Regions from separate parts of the Homo sapiens genome. Here region 2 is linked to region 1. The links are contacts of gene promoters, found by promoter capture Hi-C in blood cells and fetal thymus (Javierre and others, 2016). All regions are on one chromosome and are shown on one strand. The core of a region is centred on a gene start or on the middle of the fragment in contact, and the rest is flanking DNA. Distances in the headings are between cores, read along the strand shown. Region 1 holds the start of TOP3A (DNA topoisomerase III alpha). Region 2 overlaps LOC105371554 (a long non-coding RNA gene).

Region 1 (7,581 bases), core at 326-2,825:
TTCCGATGAGGGTATGAGCGGATCTGCTTCAGCAGGTCTTGATGTTCAATGATGGACTTCTCCACACTGGCCAGTTCATTGGCTTTCTCAATTGCCTGAGATGAGTAAAAGCCTTTGTCGTTGGCTTTCTTCTGGATCTCCGTTTCTGTGTGTAGCACTGTCCTGGTGTAATCCAAGTCTTTCAGCTTTTTTTCAAGTTCCCCAGCAAATGCCTTCCTGTTGCCAGTCTTCAAGCACTCAGAAGCTCTGGAAAATTCGGCTGAAAGCTCCTGGAACTGCTGCATGATTTTATGCTGGTCTGCAGAGATATAAGCCATGCAAAACGGCCTCACGAAGCCACGGGCCTCCAGGTCGTATAGGGTAAGGTGGTGCACGTATGCAAAGGCGCCCTCCTTAGAATCTCCCAGCACCACCTTGGAGTCCTCCACGAAGTTCAGCTTGGGGTAGGCAGATCCAGGAGGATGGCCCACGAAGGAAGCCTGGTAATCCACAGACATGATACGCAGGGAGAAGTAATTGAGATCAAAAGTGCCAAAAACTTTGGTGTCATTGGGGATGGTCAGTAAGGGTTGGGGTCCCACCTGCTCAGAGAACTCGGAAATAAGAATGAAGTCCCTCGAAAACTTGGCCCCGGACAGTTTTGACCAGGGGTTAGCACCCTGACTGGCGAAGGGGAAGAGCGGCACCGAGTACTCCTCAGGCAGGGCCGGCTCATTGTAAGGCTCTTCTTCATACTCTTCCTCTTTGGTGAAGGCCACTACGTCAGGGGCGCTGATCATATTTCCAGATATATGAAGAAAACATTGAGAGGAAGTGGGAAAGAATGCGGTGTTAATCGACGCGCAGAAGGCAGGCCTCCGGAGAAGGAAGTGAAGCCCTTACGGCCTTCTTTGCGACTCCCCGAACCCGGGGTCCTAGGCTGCTTCTCACACACCCGAGGAGAAGAACTCTAGCAGCCCCCTCACAGTTGTAGCTCCTCCGGAGCTCTCTGAGGCCTCATGAACGCCAAGGCCGCAGGCCCAACTGCCCTTCTCTTCTTCGTCCGGCGAGCGCGGCCAGCACAAGAAACCTGCTGCGAAATCACCTGCACTCTCCGGAACCCACTGCGACAGCAAAAGCCCCCGCTCTGAACAAGGCTTAACGCGAGGCTACGGGACGCCGCAGGGGTCAGCCAAGCGCTGCTGCCCCTCACTGCCCGAGGGCAGAAACCGTCGCGGCTCCTAGGACGCCACAACCCGGATCCTGCTACCGCGGCGCCGCCATCTTGACATCACATGACTCCTGGTGTCCGCGCCGCGTGACCCGGAAGCGTCCTCGTAGACTTCCGAGCAGGAGATTAAAAAGTCATGAGAAAGAGGCCTTGGATGGGAGTGTCTGGCGGCTCCCCGCAAGAAGGAGTCCGATTAACCAACCACTGCCGGGAAGGAGGGGAAAGAGGGGCGGAGTGAGACGGGGGCGGCGGGAAGGTGGCAGAGGGGAACGTGCTTGGACGAGGGGCGCGGGACAGTCTGGGAGTTGTAGTTCCAGGTCGCTGTGGGGCGCGCGCCTGGCGGAAGTAGCTGGAGAAGGCGGGCGGAAGTTCCACGCCAAGATACTGGATTCGGTGCTGAGGCGGCGGCTGCGGCACGGGAAAGGCTCAGTGACTGAAGCTCCAAAGGCCAGCAGGCTGGTGGGGACGTGACCGAAGCGAGGCTCTGGTTCCCTTTCGGTGGGCGCCATTTGAGCCTCATCTCTGGCTTCCCCAGGATGCGCCGGCAGCCGGGGAGCGGCTCCGGGCGCGAGGTCTGAGGATGATCTTTCCTGTCGCCCGCTACGCGCTCCGGTGGCTGCGACGGCCCGAAGACCGTGCCTTTTCCCGCGCCGCCATGGAGATGGCCCTCCGAGGCGTGCGGAAAGTCCTCTGTGTGGCCGAAAAAAACGACGCGGCCAAGGGGATCGCCGACCTGCTGTCAAACGGTCGCATGAGGCGGGTAAGAAAGCGCGTTCCGATCAGCTGCGTGCCTTAAGGGAGGCCCACCGAGCGGGACAGCGTGGTGGGCGCCAAGAATCGAGATGAAGGCGATTATCTCCCATTTCTCAGGCCTCACTGCCCCTCGTCTGGATTATTGCAGTGGCCTCCTGTCTGCTCTCGGACTGGAGTGCATTTTAAAACGTAGTTGATACATCTCACTCATTTGCGTGGAAACCTTTTGTTTTGCTTGCGCTTAGCAGGTTCCCAAACTTGTCTGATTCTCGGAATCGCCTCGGGCGCTGGCTGCCCTTCGGGTCTTGTGTGAGGCTGGGGAAGTGTGTATTTTACTGTTTTTCCCTAGAGATTCAGAAATTCATTTGGGAACTACTGACCAGATTCCCTTAACTTGGCATTCAAGCCCTGCCCGATCGTTCCCCAGCCAACCTAGCCCTCCCCATCCTGTGCCACAGCCACTGCATTCTACAGCCCTTGTGACTTTCCAGCCTCACAGTGCACACTTACAGCAACACGGTAAGGTTTGGGGATTAGATTTGAAGTCAGCCCTGTTCCTACCCGAATGAACTGATTCTGAGAGAGGTAAGTGGTAAGAATGTGTTCTACACACACGGGAGGCACAAACGCAAGGGAGGATAAGAAAAAGTTTCATAAAGGAGGTGCCACGGGAGACATAAAGAGCTGTCCAGGAAAATATCTCAGATAACAAAAGTAGATCCTGAAATGGTTTTCTGGAGAACTTTTCTAAGAGCATGGGTGGAAGTTCCCTGCTCATTTTTCTTTAGTTCCCAGGGTCCTAAGACCTGTTTCCAGATCAAGGATAGTGGGAGTGGAGCCAGGGTTGTGTGAATGCTGGCTGACAGCTTTACCTGTTTCCAGTGCTAGAAGTCCTGGTGACCAGCCCCAAGGTTTGTCTACTTCTAGACAATGAAGTAGACATTGAAAAATGGTTCTCCTACGCCTAACTTCTTATCCTTCAAGGCTCTGCTGAATTCATTCTCTCTCTCTCCCTTTTTTTTTTTTTTTTTTAAGCAATCCAGAGGTCTTGTATTTATCTATTTTTACCCTATCATACCATGAATCCATAGGGAATAGGTTCCAGCGGCTCAGGCTCTTTTCCATTGGTTCTCACAAAGTGTACTTCCCTCAATGGAACAGGCTGGCACTTCAGGTGAACCCTTTCTCTTTGACTTGCTTCTTTTTTGATCATTTTCCTTCACACATTTCAGGAAAGATCTTGGTTCTTAGAGTGCTTAATATGCTCAATAGAAACATTAATTCTTTGGGCAAGAATCTAGCCCTTGTTCGCAGCAGTGCCAACAGCATGCTGGGTAACATAGACTTTTCCAGTTCTGCCATGTAACATTTGTGGGTCATTCCCTTTTGAACAGTATGCATTCTCACGAAGTCCTCAATATCACCTTCATTGTAGATTCTGGTGTCTGTGGCCAGAGAAACTCCATATTTTTGTTTTGTTTTGTTTGTTTGTTTTGAGATGGAGCTTTGCTCTTGTTGCCCAGCCTGGAGTGCAATGGTGTGATCTCAGCTCACTGCAACCTCCGCCTCCCGGGTTCAAGCGATTCTCCTGCCTCAGCCTCCCTAGTAGCTGGGATTACAGGTGCCTGTCACCATGCCCAGCTAATTTTTTGTATTTTTAGTAGTTTCACTGTGTTGGCCAGGATGGTCTTGAACTCCTGACTTCAGGTGAGCCACCCGCCTTAGCCTCCCAAAGTGTTAGGGTTACAGGCGTGAGCCACCGTGCCCAGCTCGAACTCCATGTTTTCTATAAGGCCAGGAGAACATACATCAGATGCCTCGTCCTCTTTTCCTTTGTGTTCGTCATTTTGGCAAATTACTCCAAGATGGCAGTTCCAGCCAAAAGGAAAGACTTTTCTTGGAAAGAGAATTTTTATTTTTATGTACAGAAAACACAACAGTGTGTACTTAACCCAGTTTAGTGGCAAATTCTTTAGCCTTTGCCTTTTCTAGGTTGGTAATGCAAGCTACAGATTTTGGACCCAGGGCATTGCCTCCCCAGTGACAGCAGATCTCATATGTCGTTGTAATTTGTCCCACCAGCTTAGCCAGAGCTCCTTTGTCTACCAGAAAGTTAACCTTTGTGAAGGTGACAGTGGTGCAGGTCTTCCTGTGGAATTTGACACCACAGTCTTGACGGTGCAGTAGAGAATCCCCATCTTAGGACACAGCACAGGCAGGAAGACAACCAGCTCAATGGGATCCACCACCAGCTGACCCTTCATGCTCTCTACCAAGTTGGTGACGGTGTCAACCCCTGCTCGAAGTGTAGGTGGTCTCTTAGTAGCGACATCCCCTTTGCTGGAAGCTTTCTTCTCAGCCTGGGCCAACGGTTTCGATCTCATCCCTTGCTCTGTCTCTTGTCTGTACTGTGGGCCAGCTTAAGCAATTGAGTAGCTTAAGTTTGGTAGTCTGAGGCCTGGGTGAACTGGTCAATCCCAGGTGGCACATCAGCCACTTATAGAGTACAGCGGCTCTGCCGCAGCAGCCATTTATAGCGGGACTATTTGACAAAGTGGGTGAGGCCCTTAGGCTAGATATCCAATGCCAAAATTATTAGGGCTTTTCTCAAATGGGATTTACCACCTTTTTGGCCTACTGCTGCTCCATGACAACAGGGGCCAGGGCCACTTCTTCCCCTTGGCCATCTTTCCTTTTGGCATCTGGGGCGGCTAGAGGAGAGAGGCTGCTGAAATGTCTCATCTTCAAGGAATCCTTCCCTCACCACCTGTTCCCCCACACTAGGTCAGAGACCCTTACTGACATGCTGTCATAGCACTCTATTCTACTTGAAAGGCATCTACTAGTTACAGTTAAATAATGGGATGTGCGATCATTTATTTGATTTTTGTCACTGCCTCTCCTTGGACTCTAAACTCCAAAGGACAGTGATTATATTTTGTTAATTGCTATGTCCTAACGCCTAATATGGTGTCTGGAATGCAGGAAACTTTCAATAAATATTAATACTTGGGCTGAGCGCAGCGGCTCATGCCTGTAATCCCAGCAGTTGGGGAGGCTCAAGCGGGCAGACCACCTGAGGTCGTGAGTTCAAGACCAGCCTGGCCAACATGGCAAAACCCCATCTCTACTAAAAATACAAAAATTAGCCAGGTGTGGTGGCGGGGTCCTGTAATCCCAGCTACTCACGAGGCTGAGGCAGGAGAATCGCTTCAACCCGGGAAGTGGAGCTTGCAGTGAGCCTAGATTGCGCCATTACATTACAGCCTGGGCGACAGAGTGAGACTCCATCTCAAAAAAAAATTAGGCCAGGCATGGTGGCTCATACCTGTAATCCCAGCACTCTGGGAGGCTGAGGTGGGCGGATCATGAGGTCAAGAGATTGAGACCATCCTGGCTAACACGGTGAAACCCTGTCTCTACTAAAAATACAAAAAATTAGCCGGGCATGCTGGCAGACGCCTGTAGTCCCAGCTACTCGGGAGGCTGAGGCAGCAGAATGGCATGAACCCGGGAGGTGGAGCTTGCAGTGAGCCGAGATTGTGCCACTGCACTCCAGCCTGGGCAACAGAGTGAGACTCTGTCTCAAAAAAAAAAAAAAAAATTCATAGTTGTTGAATGCATGTTTGAGCTGAGCCTGAAAGTTTTACCAGGCAGTAGAAACTGTAAAGAACAACCTAGTGGCTTGAAACTGCTTGGCATATTCAGAAACAGTGAGAAGTTAGGGGTGTGGTGTGGTGGGAAGAGACACCGATGAGTTAAGCAAGAGCAGCAGTTGAGTGCAGATCATAAGAATCTTAGAGAGCCATGTAGGTTGAGTGGTAAAATGCACAGAAAATTGACCATTTTAATCATTTTGAAGTATATAGTTCAGTGGAATTTTGTCCACTAAATGTGCCACCATCATCATTATCTAGTTCCAGAAGGTTTTTTTTCACCCCAAGAGGAAGCCTCATATCCATTAAGCAGTCACTCCCCTTACCCTCTCCTCAGCCCCTCACAACCACGAATCTGCCTTCTTTCCCCATGGATTTGCCTGTTCTGGGCATTTCCTATAAGTGGACCCATATCTTACATGCTCTTTTGTGTCAGGTTTCTTTCACTTAACATAATCTTGAAGTCCATCCATGTTGTACCATGTATTAATATCAGTTCTTCATTCCTTTTTTTTGGTTTTTGAGAAGGAGTCTCTCTCACTGTCGCTCAGGCTGGAGTGCAGTGATGAGATCTCGGCTCATTGTAACCACCGCCTCCCAGGTTCAAGCGATTCTCCTGCCTCAGCCTCCCAAGTAGCTGGGATTACAGGCACCCACCACCACGCCCAGCTAATTTTTTGTATTTTTAGTAGAGACAGGGTTTCACTATGTTGGCCAGGCTGGTCTCAAACTCCTGACCTCATGATCCGCCCACCTCAGCCTCCCAAAGTGCTGGAATTACAGGCATGAGCCATTGCACCTGGCCTCTTCATTCCTTTTTATGGCTGAATAATATTCTATCATATGGATAGATCATATTTCATTTTACCATACATCAGTTGATGGACATTTGGGTTGTTTTCATCTTTTGACTATTGTGAATAGAACTTCTATAGACATTCGCTGGGCGTGGTGGCTCACACCTGTAATCCCAGCACTTTGGGAGGCCGAGGCAGGTGGATCACGAGGTCAGGAGATTGAGAACATTCTGGCTAACACGGTGAAACCCCATCTCTACTAAAAATACAAAAAAATTAGCCGGGCGTGGTGGCAGGTGCCTGTAGTCCCAGCTACTCGGGAGGCTGAGGCAGGAGAATGGTGTGAACCCGGGAGGTGGAGCTTGCAGTGAGCCGAGATCACGCCACTGGACTCCAGCCTGGGCGACAGAGCCAGACTCCATCTCAAAAAAAAAAAAAAAAAAGAACTTCTATAGACTTTCATGTACAAGTTTTTGTTTGAATGTGTTTTTTTGTTTGTTTTTTGTTTTTTGAGACAGTCTCGCTCTGTCACCCAGGCTAGAGTGCAGTGGCGCCATCTCCACTCACTGCAACGTCCACCTCCTGGGCTCAAGTGATTCTCCTGCCTCAGCCTCCCCAAGTAACTGGGATTACAGGCACACACCACCACACCTGGCCAATTGTTGTATTTTTAGTAGAGATGGGGTTTCACCATGTTGGCCAGGCTGGTCTCGGACTCCTGACCTAAAGTGATCCAACTGTCTCAGCCTCCCAAAGTGTATTTGAATGCGTTTTTAATTCTTTTGGGTAAATTTGTAGGAGTGGAATTGCTGTGACATGTGATAACTCTGTAACTTTTTGAGGAAACACCAACATTTTCCAGAGTGGCCAAAGCATTTTACATTTCCACTGACAATGTCCAATTTCTCCACATCCTCAACAACACTTGTTATTTTACTTGTTTTTTTTATTATTCTATTTAATTATTATCCTAATGGGTATGGAGTGGTACCTCATCATGGTTTTGATTTGTGTTTTCCTAATGATTAATAACATTGAGCATCTTTTCATATGCTTGTTGGCCATTTCTTATCTTCTTTGGAGCAATGTTGGTTATATTTTTGGTATCATAACCAAGAAATCATTGCCAAATTCAGGATCAGAAAGAATTATACAAAGGAATCCA
Region 2 (7,581 bases), core at 1,581-4,080, 1.8 Mb after region 1:
GGAGCTCCCAGACCTATTAGAAAGTGACACTCTTTACTGACCACAGGTTAGGAATCTTGTGCAGGGACTGTGCAGACAAGGTATGAGGCCAGTTCTCCCCAAGGGGCTTTTATTTGCTCTGCATGTCAAGCTTGATTCCTTAAAAGGAAACACACCCTCAAGCCTTGGTTAAAATAACCAGTTTTTCCAATGTGTCCTGTTGACAAAGAAAAATGGATTCTTATTGCACTGATGCAAAGAGCTATATTGCCGTTAAGTTAAGAGTACAGCTAGTCTCCAAATTCTAGAGGAACCAGGCAGAGACAAATAAATATGCTCCAAATTTTGTTCACAGGAGTATACCTTACTCAATTATTAAAGGCCATAAATAGTTTAAAACTTTTCTTGACTCTGAAAAACAAAACAAGGATCAGCAATATTCCAAGCAAAGTTAAAAACTCTGCTTTAACTTTCTGAGTGCAGTCCATTTACTTAACTCTTGTTTTGCTTGATATTTATGAACATATTAGTTCTTTGTGAGTCCCATACATTCTCTCTCTATTCCAATGTTACAATCTTTAAAGCTATTAAAAACCTGCATTTGAGAACACCTGTTGAACTCCTTAATAGAGCTTGATTATAAACCATTTTTTGAAAAGGAACAAAGCAGGACAACAATTGTCTGTGAATGACAAAATTTTCAGGATAGTTAAAAACATGACTGACAAAGAAGTTTATTTATCTTCATGGTTTACAATAACTTTACCCTTAATTATGATTGATAGCATATACTTAGACATTAGAATCTTAGAAATCCCATACAATTCTGAAACATATATTAGTATTATTCACCAAACTATAACTTAAATAAGATTGGACATCATTTTGGCAATCTCATGTGACTAAACATGTCAAATAATCCTGTTTACCTCTTTTCTGAATGTTTCAGGGCCCCTCTAAACCATTCAAAAAGTTAGGTATCAGGAAGGACAATTTCCAGATTGCCATAAATTATTTTGCCAAAATGATGACTCAAAAGGCAAAATCCTTTCATTAGCCTTTATTATGAAATGAAAATCTTGTTCAAAGCAAAATTTTACCCTTGCATTAGTTTATTAATGTTAACCCCAATTTGTTTACACGAAACCTTATAGATTATTCCATCAAATCCTAACCAATTTGACCATGAGGTGAAATCTTTTTTTTTCTTTTTTTTTTGAGATGGAGTTTCATTCTTGTTGCACAGGCTAGAGTGCAAGGGCATGATCTCAGCTCACTGCAACCTCCGCCTCCCAGGTTCAAGCGATTCTCCTGCCTCAGCCTCCCAAGTAGCTGGGATTACAGGCATGTGCCACCACCCCTGGCTAATTTTGTATTTTTAGTAGAAACGGGGCTTCTCCATGTTTGTCAGCCTGGTCTCGAACTCCCGACCTCAGGTGATCTGCCCGCCTCGGCCTCCCAAAGTGCTGGGGTTACAGGTGTGAGCCACCGCACCCGGCCAAGGTGAAATCTTTACAAACCTTTTATAACCCTTTTACTAAGGGGCAGATTAGTGTCTTAAGACCTCCTTGCTATGCTTTTATTTTAATGCTTAATTTATGAAAAGACCATATAGATACTATGGGAGAGGACGGTGTAGTGCTTCTACCATGCATTGCATTGCAAGGCAGCCCAAAGCCAATTGGCTTATTTTGTAATTAGCCCATCCCTGATGGGAGTCTCATCTCCCAGTGCAGGGTGAGGATGTTTCCTTATCTTCCAGGTGGCCAAGAGCATCCCTGATTTATAACTACTATTAGCCATCCCTTACAGTGTATTTTCTACTTGATTATTACACACCAAAGCTTTCTTGTAAAAATGCGAAGTAATTTCTGATACCCCCAAAACTCAAAACCATCAGATAACACAATGCAAAACAGAACAGAGCCTTTGATTTTGAGAGGGAATTATTTGCTTTTAATTCCTGGGGTTTCATGAGGAAAACAGAGGGTTTTTTCCCAAAACGGGGTCTGTGGCGCCTCCTCTGTGTTTCCTGAGGAGTCCCATGCTACCAGAAGTTATCTTAGGGCCTTTTATACATGCATTAAGAGTAGTAAGACAAAAAATGGAGAAAAATAATTCAGTCGGCTGAGATGAGCCTTTTTCCAGAAAAACAAGATTCAAGAAAAGAAAAAACATAAAGGCCTTTTAATATACCTATAACTTGATTTTCCACTTTTAATTAAGCTGAGCACTCTTTAAGAAAATTCTTCTAAATCCTTTGTTACTTGACCTTAGCCATGCCAAGCAGTTAAGATTTTTGGCTTTTGAACTTTACAATAAGTAACCTCACAGGTAAAACTAAAGAGCTTTAATTAGGTTATGACTTAACCAGGAGTGTAAAAGGTATTTTTAAAGGAGTGACAGGCAGCTTTTTTTTTTTTTTTTTTTTTTTGCTGAGACAGAGTCTTGCTCTGTCACCCAGGCTGGAGTGCAGTAGCATGATCTTGGCTCACTGCAACCTCTGCCTCCTGGGTTCAAGCAATTCCTCTGCCTCAGCTTCCTGAGTAGCCAGGACTACAGGTGCATGCCACCACGCCTGGCTAATTTTTGTTTTTTTAGTAGAGACAGGGTTTCGTCATGTTGACTAGGCTGGTCTTGAACTCCTGACCTCGTGATCCACCCGGACAGGCAGCTTTTGAAACTGTCACTGCAAAATTGTGACTGAGACAGTGGAAGAGATCTCACCCAAACAACTCCATTTTGTTTCCAGTCCCCAAACTGTCCTTGCCCATCCCCGGGCATAGGCTGAATCAAGTTGGGGAGGAGCTTGGTTTACAGTTTATAGTCTAAAACAAAGAAGATAGCAGCTGCTTCTCAAGATATACTTCCCTTTTGCCTGGGGACCAGACCAAGAAACTAGCTACAGGATTAGAAACCATGGCCCAAGAGCCATGCAATTGGAGGCTACAAGATTTTGACCCTCCCTAAACGGCTGTTATGATCAGTGCTTAAGATGTTTTGTAAACCCTGCCCTTGATGGATCAGCTGACACAGCCCAGACTGACAAACTGGCTTATCTGATTTAGCACAAGAAGACAGCCACCATTGTAAAATGGCGGAGACAAAAACAAAGTATTGCCACATGGTTACAGATTATGTTCCCATGACATGAAACAAGATGGAGGCCTGTAGCCAAGTTTGCCACTGGATACTTTGCTGGGCTGGTTTGAACAGCAGGCTTATGGGTTTCTGGGCCTGCATCCTGACCTAAGATACCTTTTCTTTAACAGAACCACACAGAAAGACATACAAAGAAGAGCAGATTGTTTACAGCTTAAGACCAACCTCACAAATCCTTTTTCATTAACTATAAATTTAAAGAAAACATAAACAATGATCTTTATTATCCCTTTTGCCGGTTTCCACAGGAAGAGAGAAGCCAAAAGCCTGACTGGTAAGAAATTTTTACCCTTTTGCCAGCATATCAGGCTTCTGGGCTGGGTTTCCTTCCCCCTAGCTCAACTCTATGCCAAACATTTTAAGGTTTGGAAAATTAACCTTTTCCATGTTGGAAGAACATTATAAAAGAGAAGCCATTTTAAACTGCAAAACAAGGAAAAACACCACAGAAAGGAGTTCCAATTAGGGTTGTCAGGAGGTATTGCCTCTTTTCCTATTGGGAATGGTGTTTCCCCTTTGCCTTCCCTATTTTTTTCTTTTCCCTTTTGGCCTTCTATAGGAGACATTACTTATCTCCAAAATTTTCTTCTGCTTGCAGAGCTGCTTATTTTACCTACAGTAAGGGTTTGCCTTAGCAGCAACATAACATCCCTTCATGAGAGGTTACATACCTGAGTTAAATATTGGAAAGCTTCCATATACTTATTAAGGTCATCAGAAAACCAGCCTAAGTCTCCCTTTACTTGCCAAAGGTCCTGCAATGAGAAGGGAACTTGAAGGGGCCCCAAATAAGGGGGACCCTCAGATGACTTCCCTGAAAGTTACTTTTTAAATTTTGGGGTACTGTTTTCCCTGGGCCTGCCTGATATGACTGCAAAAGAAAATAAGCCACTTTTTCTTCAAAGTTTCAAGGTCGAAAGAGTCCTAGTGCTTCAAAATACACTCAAGAGAAGTGCATGTTGAAGATGGTCTGTTACCCATCTAGAAAGAGAAGTGAGAATAAAAGCGTCCTTTTAGTCTCCTTCCTTTTGGTATGAAATCCAGGATGGAGAAGAAAGCAGTAGGAGGCGTCCCCCAACTATTTTCTCTTTTGTTCCTGGATTCCCAGCACTCATTTAAATGTTCCACCCATGACTGCAGGTGTGACCCTCCAAGCCATGGCACCAGAGGATCTGAGTTTTGGGCCATAGTCACGCTGTTCCCAAGCAATCAGTTCTCTGCCTTTTATTTACCTTTGACCTCCTAGACTTGGGTGGCCTGTGTGCCTCCCAAAAAATGGATTTGAAGAAAAACCATGTAATTGGGAAGAGACCCTTTAAGGGAGGGGATGTGATAGATTGAACTCTATATCCTGCCATTATAGCCCATGCTAAAGCATTTACCCATAGAAGAATGGTTCCGGTTAACTTCTGGACTTAAAATCCCCTTACTAATTAAGCACTGTCTTAGTAGGAGCCAGAATAGATGGCTTAAAGGAACATAGGAACTGAATGGCCGTTTTCCTGCCAGTGGGACAATATTGAGACTAAAATTTGGCCATGGAAGACATCCTACTCCTAACTGTTAAAAGCAGAAACTTCCCATTCTTAGAAGAGGCCTACAGCCTGATTTCTACTAGGTGGCTTAGAAATACCATGTGCTTGCCAGAGAAAACGTAGAGAGAGAGAGAGACACTTATTGAGTTACTGCATGCCGTGATTCACGATCTTTTCTAACAGACAGAATCCTGCACATTAGACACACAGAGAGACCACAGATAGAAAGAAAGTTTTGGCGACAGGGTAGCTGGAAGAGAGCCTTGAGACTAAAGAACAGATATAAAGTTGAAATCCGCTCCATACTCACCAGTCTCATGATTGAATTTCCTTTCCTGGCCAATGCACCAAAATGATACGGCTCCGATGAGTGGAGGAACACCAGGGTTCTTGGTCCTCATGCTGGTTTAGATAAAACAACATGGACATATGTGGAGTGGTTTTAAGGGGCAGATAGTTTAATAGGCAAGAAGAGGAAAGAAAGAAGGGAGAAGGAAGAAATAAGCACCTCCCTTGTACAGAGACGGGGGTGGTGGGAGGCTCCAAAGCCAAAAGAGGTCCCCCTCCCATACAGTTTCTTAAATTCAAATGTTTAAATGAGAACATCTCAATTCAGGATGCACCTCCTCCTACCAATTTTTCACTCAGATCTATCCCAAGTTTCAAAGCCATATAGTCAGTGATCACTCAGAACTATCTCATAAGTACCTTATGTGGTTTAACCTAAAACTAAATTGTTTTCATCCCCAAACCTCTTCTTTCTAAATTTATTATAACTTTGACAGGGGAGCTAGGAGCCACTCTCTTATTCACCAATAATCATTTTAGTCCTATTGGTCTTACAAGAAAGTTGGCTGTTTCATGCCTACAAGAGTAGAGGTTTTTTCTTGAAGAACAATTTTGGGCCATATCAAAATAAGATCTGCATCCAGAAATTGAAAAGTAATGCTCTCCACTGTAAACTGATTTTAAACTATACCTGGAATATTCATGCTGAGCACTATATTTTACATTAGAGTCATCCCTCATTATTGGTTCCAGGATTGGTTCTAGGACTCCCATGGATACCAAAATCCTTGGATGCTCAAGTAGCTGATATAAAAATGGCATAGTATTTGCATATAACTGATGTACATTCTCCCAAATACTTTAAATCATCTCTAGATTACTTATAATACCTAATACAATGTAAATACCATGTAGATAGTTTTACATTTTCTATTGCATTATTTTGAGGGTTTTCTGCTCAATATTTCCAATCTGTGGTTGGGTGAAATGCAGAACATGGCCAGGCACCGTGGCTCACGCCTGTAATCCCAGCACTTTGGGAGGCCGAGGTGGGCGGATCACGAGGTCAGGAGATCGAGACCATCCTGGCCAACACGGTGAAACCCCGTCTCTACTAAAATACAAAAAATTAGCCGGACATGGTGGCACACGTGCCTGTAGTGCTAGCTACTCGGAAGGCTGAGGCAGGAGAATCACTTGAACCCAGGAGGAGGAGGTTGCAGTGAGCCGAGATCACGCCACCGCACTCCAGCCTGGGGTGACACAGTGAGACTGAGTCTCAAAAAAATAAAAATAAAAATAAAAACCAGAAAGGCACTAAGAGATGCATAATAGGCAAGTAGGCACTCAATAAATATTGACTGAATGTGTTATTCTAATATGCACTGTGCAAAGTGCTGGCAAGATACAGTAGTTCAGAGAAGTGCTAAGTATTCAAAAAAGATAGATTTGCACTTTCTAGAATAAAGAAAGATGTCAACCATACTTTTTTTCTTTACTGCAACATTTGTATTTGCAGAGTGCTTTGTAATTACAAAGCATTTTTTTATTTTCACATTCATTTAATCTGTATGTGTTAGACTGCAGACTGGAAAGGGACTGACCCAGGTACCACCTCTCTTCTAGGACCCAGAATACCCATCATAGATGAAACTTAACTTTAAAATGACTGTGTAGTGGAAGAATGAAAAGTATTCATCTTGCAACCAGGATGAATACTTACCTCAACTCAGGATGCACCTCTCCCTGGAAAGGTGCATCCTGAGTTGAGATGTGCCTAGAAACCAGAGAAGAGAGATGGCCCAAACCTACCTGAGACCTAGCTGCAGAGCATGGTGGCCGTTTCTTCCCCTGCCTCTCAGAACCAGCAGGACTGTAAGCCAGGAGTTCAAGACTGCAGTGCACTAGATCCGGCCTGTGAATAGTCACTGCACTCAGCCCGGGCAACATAGCAAGACCACATCTCTAAAGAGAGAGAGGGAGAGAACGATAAAAAAGAAAGAAAGACTATAAAGAGCTGGGAAGGGAAAGAAGCCAGATTATCACACCCACCTTGACAAAATTCCCACCAATCAGTGGGCACTATATACCCTGCGATTCCCAAAGGAGAGGTCAAATGAGAGTCTAGTAGTAGTCCTACTCACTCCCAGATCTAGAAAAGCAGGCCATGAACTGTTATTTTGGCCAGCACCTCTCTCCCTGAATTCCCAGACCTAGGTGGAGACTGCTCTCTTTCTCTACCAAGAATTGGCAAACTACTGCTAGCTGGCGGCCCAAGCTAACACGCGCGCGCACACACACACACATTATTTTTACATTTTTAAACGGTTAAAATATTTCGTGACACGTGAAAATTACAGTGAAATTCAAATTTCAGTGAAGTTTTGTTGGAACACAGCCACACCTATTTGCTTACTGTCCAAGGCTGATTTTGTGCTACAACAGTAGAACTTTCAACCATAAGGAGATCGCAGAGCCTAAAATGTGTACTGTCTGGCCCTTTATAGAAGTTCACCAACTGCTTCTACACCATGGGGTGGGGTCTAGGTCTATTTACTAAGCCAAACGACCATCCAGGCAAAGAAATAAAAGAAGCAACACTCCTGGGGGGTAAAGT

What was found. The method cuts DNA at HindIII sites, captures the fragments that hold promoters and counts their contacts. A CHiCAGO score of 5 or more calls a contact.
Region 2: a contact is called between a fragment that was not itself captured here and the fragment with the promoter of TOP3A in region 1, in 1 of 17 cell types (erythroblasts). The highest score is 5.6, in erythroblasts.

The regions. Positions count from the first base shown.
Region 1 is chr17:18,308,988-18,316,568 of GRCh38, reverse strand. TOP3A (DNA topoisomerase III alpha) reads left to right here and starts at 1,575. Exons shown (of 19, transcript NM_004618.5): 1 at 1,575-1,970. The coding sequence starts at 1,791. It overlaps SMCR8 (SMCR8-C9orf72 complex subunit), which reads right to left and starts at 1,276. Exons shown (of 2, transcript NM_144775.3): 1 at 1-1,276. The coding sequence starts at 779. It also overlaps the pseudogene RPL7AP65 and the pseudogene RPL21P121. RefSeq lists enhancers at 1,216-1,265, 955-1,478, 1,606-1,955, 1,966-2,055, 2,003-2,526 and a silencer at 1,406-1,455. The HindIII fragment of the contact is 5,874 bases long and covers 1-4,312 here.
Region 2 is chr17:16,537,194-16,544,774 of GRCh38, reverse strand. It overlaps LOC105371554 (a long non-coding RNA gene), which reads right to left. Exons shown (of 4, transcript XR_007065637.1): 2 at 6,777-6,929; 3 at 4,987-5,078; 4 at 689-4,122. Among named protein-coding and RNA genes, the nearest start is that of ZNF287, 28 kb to the left of the region's middle. The HindIII fragment of the contact is 2,009 bases long and covers 1,826-3,834 here.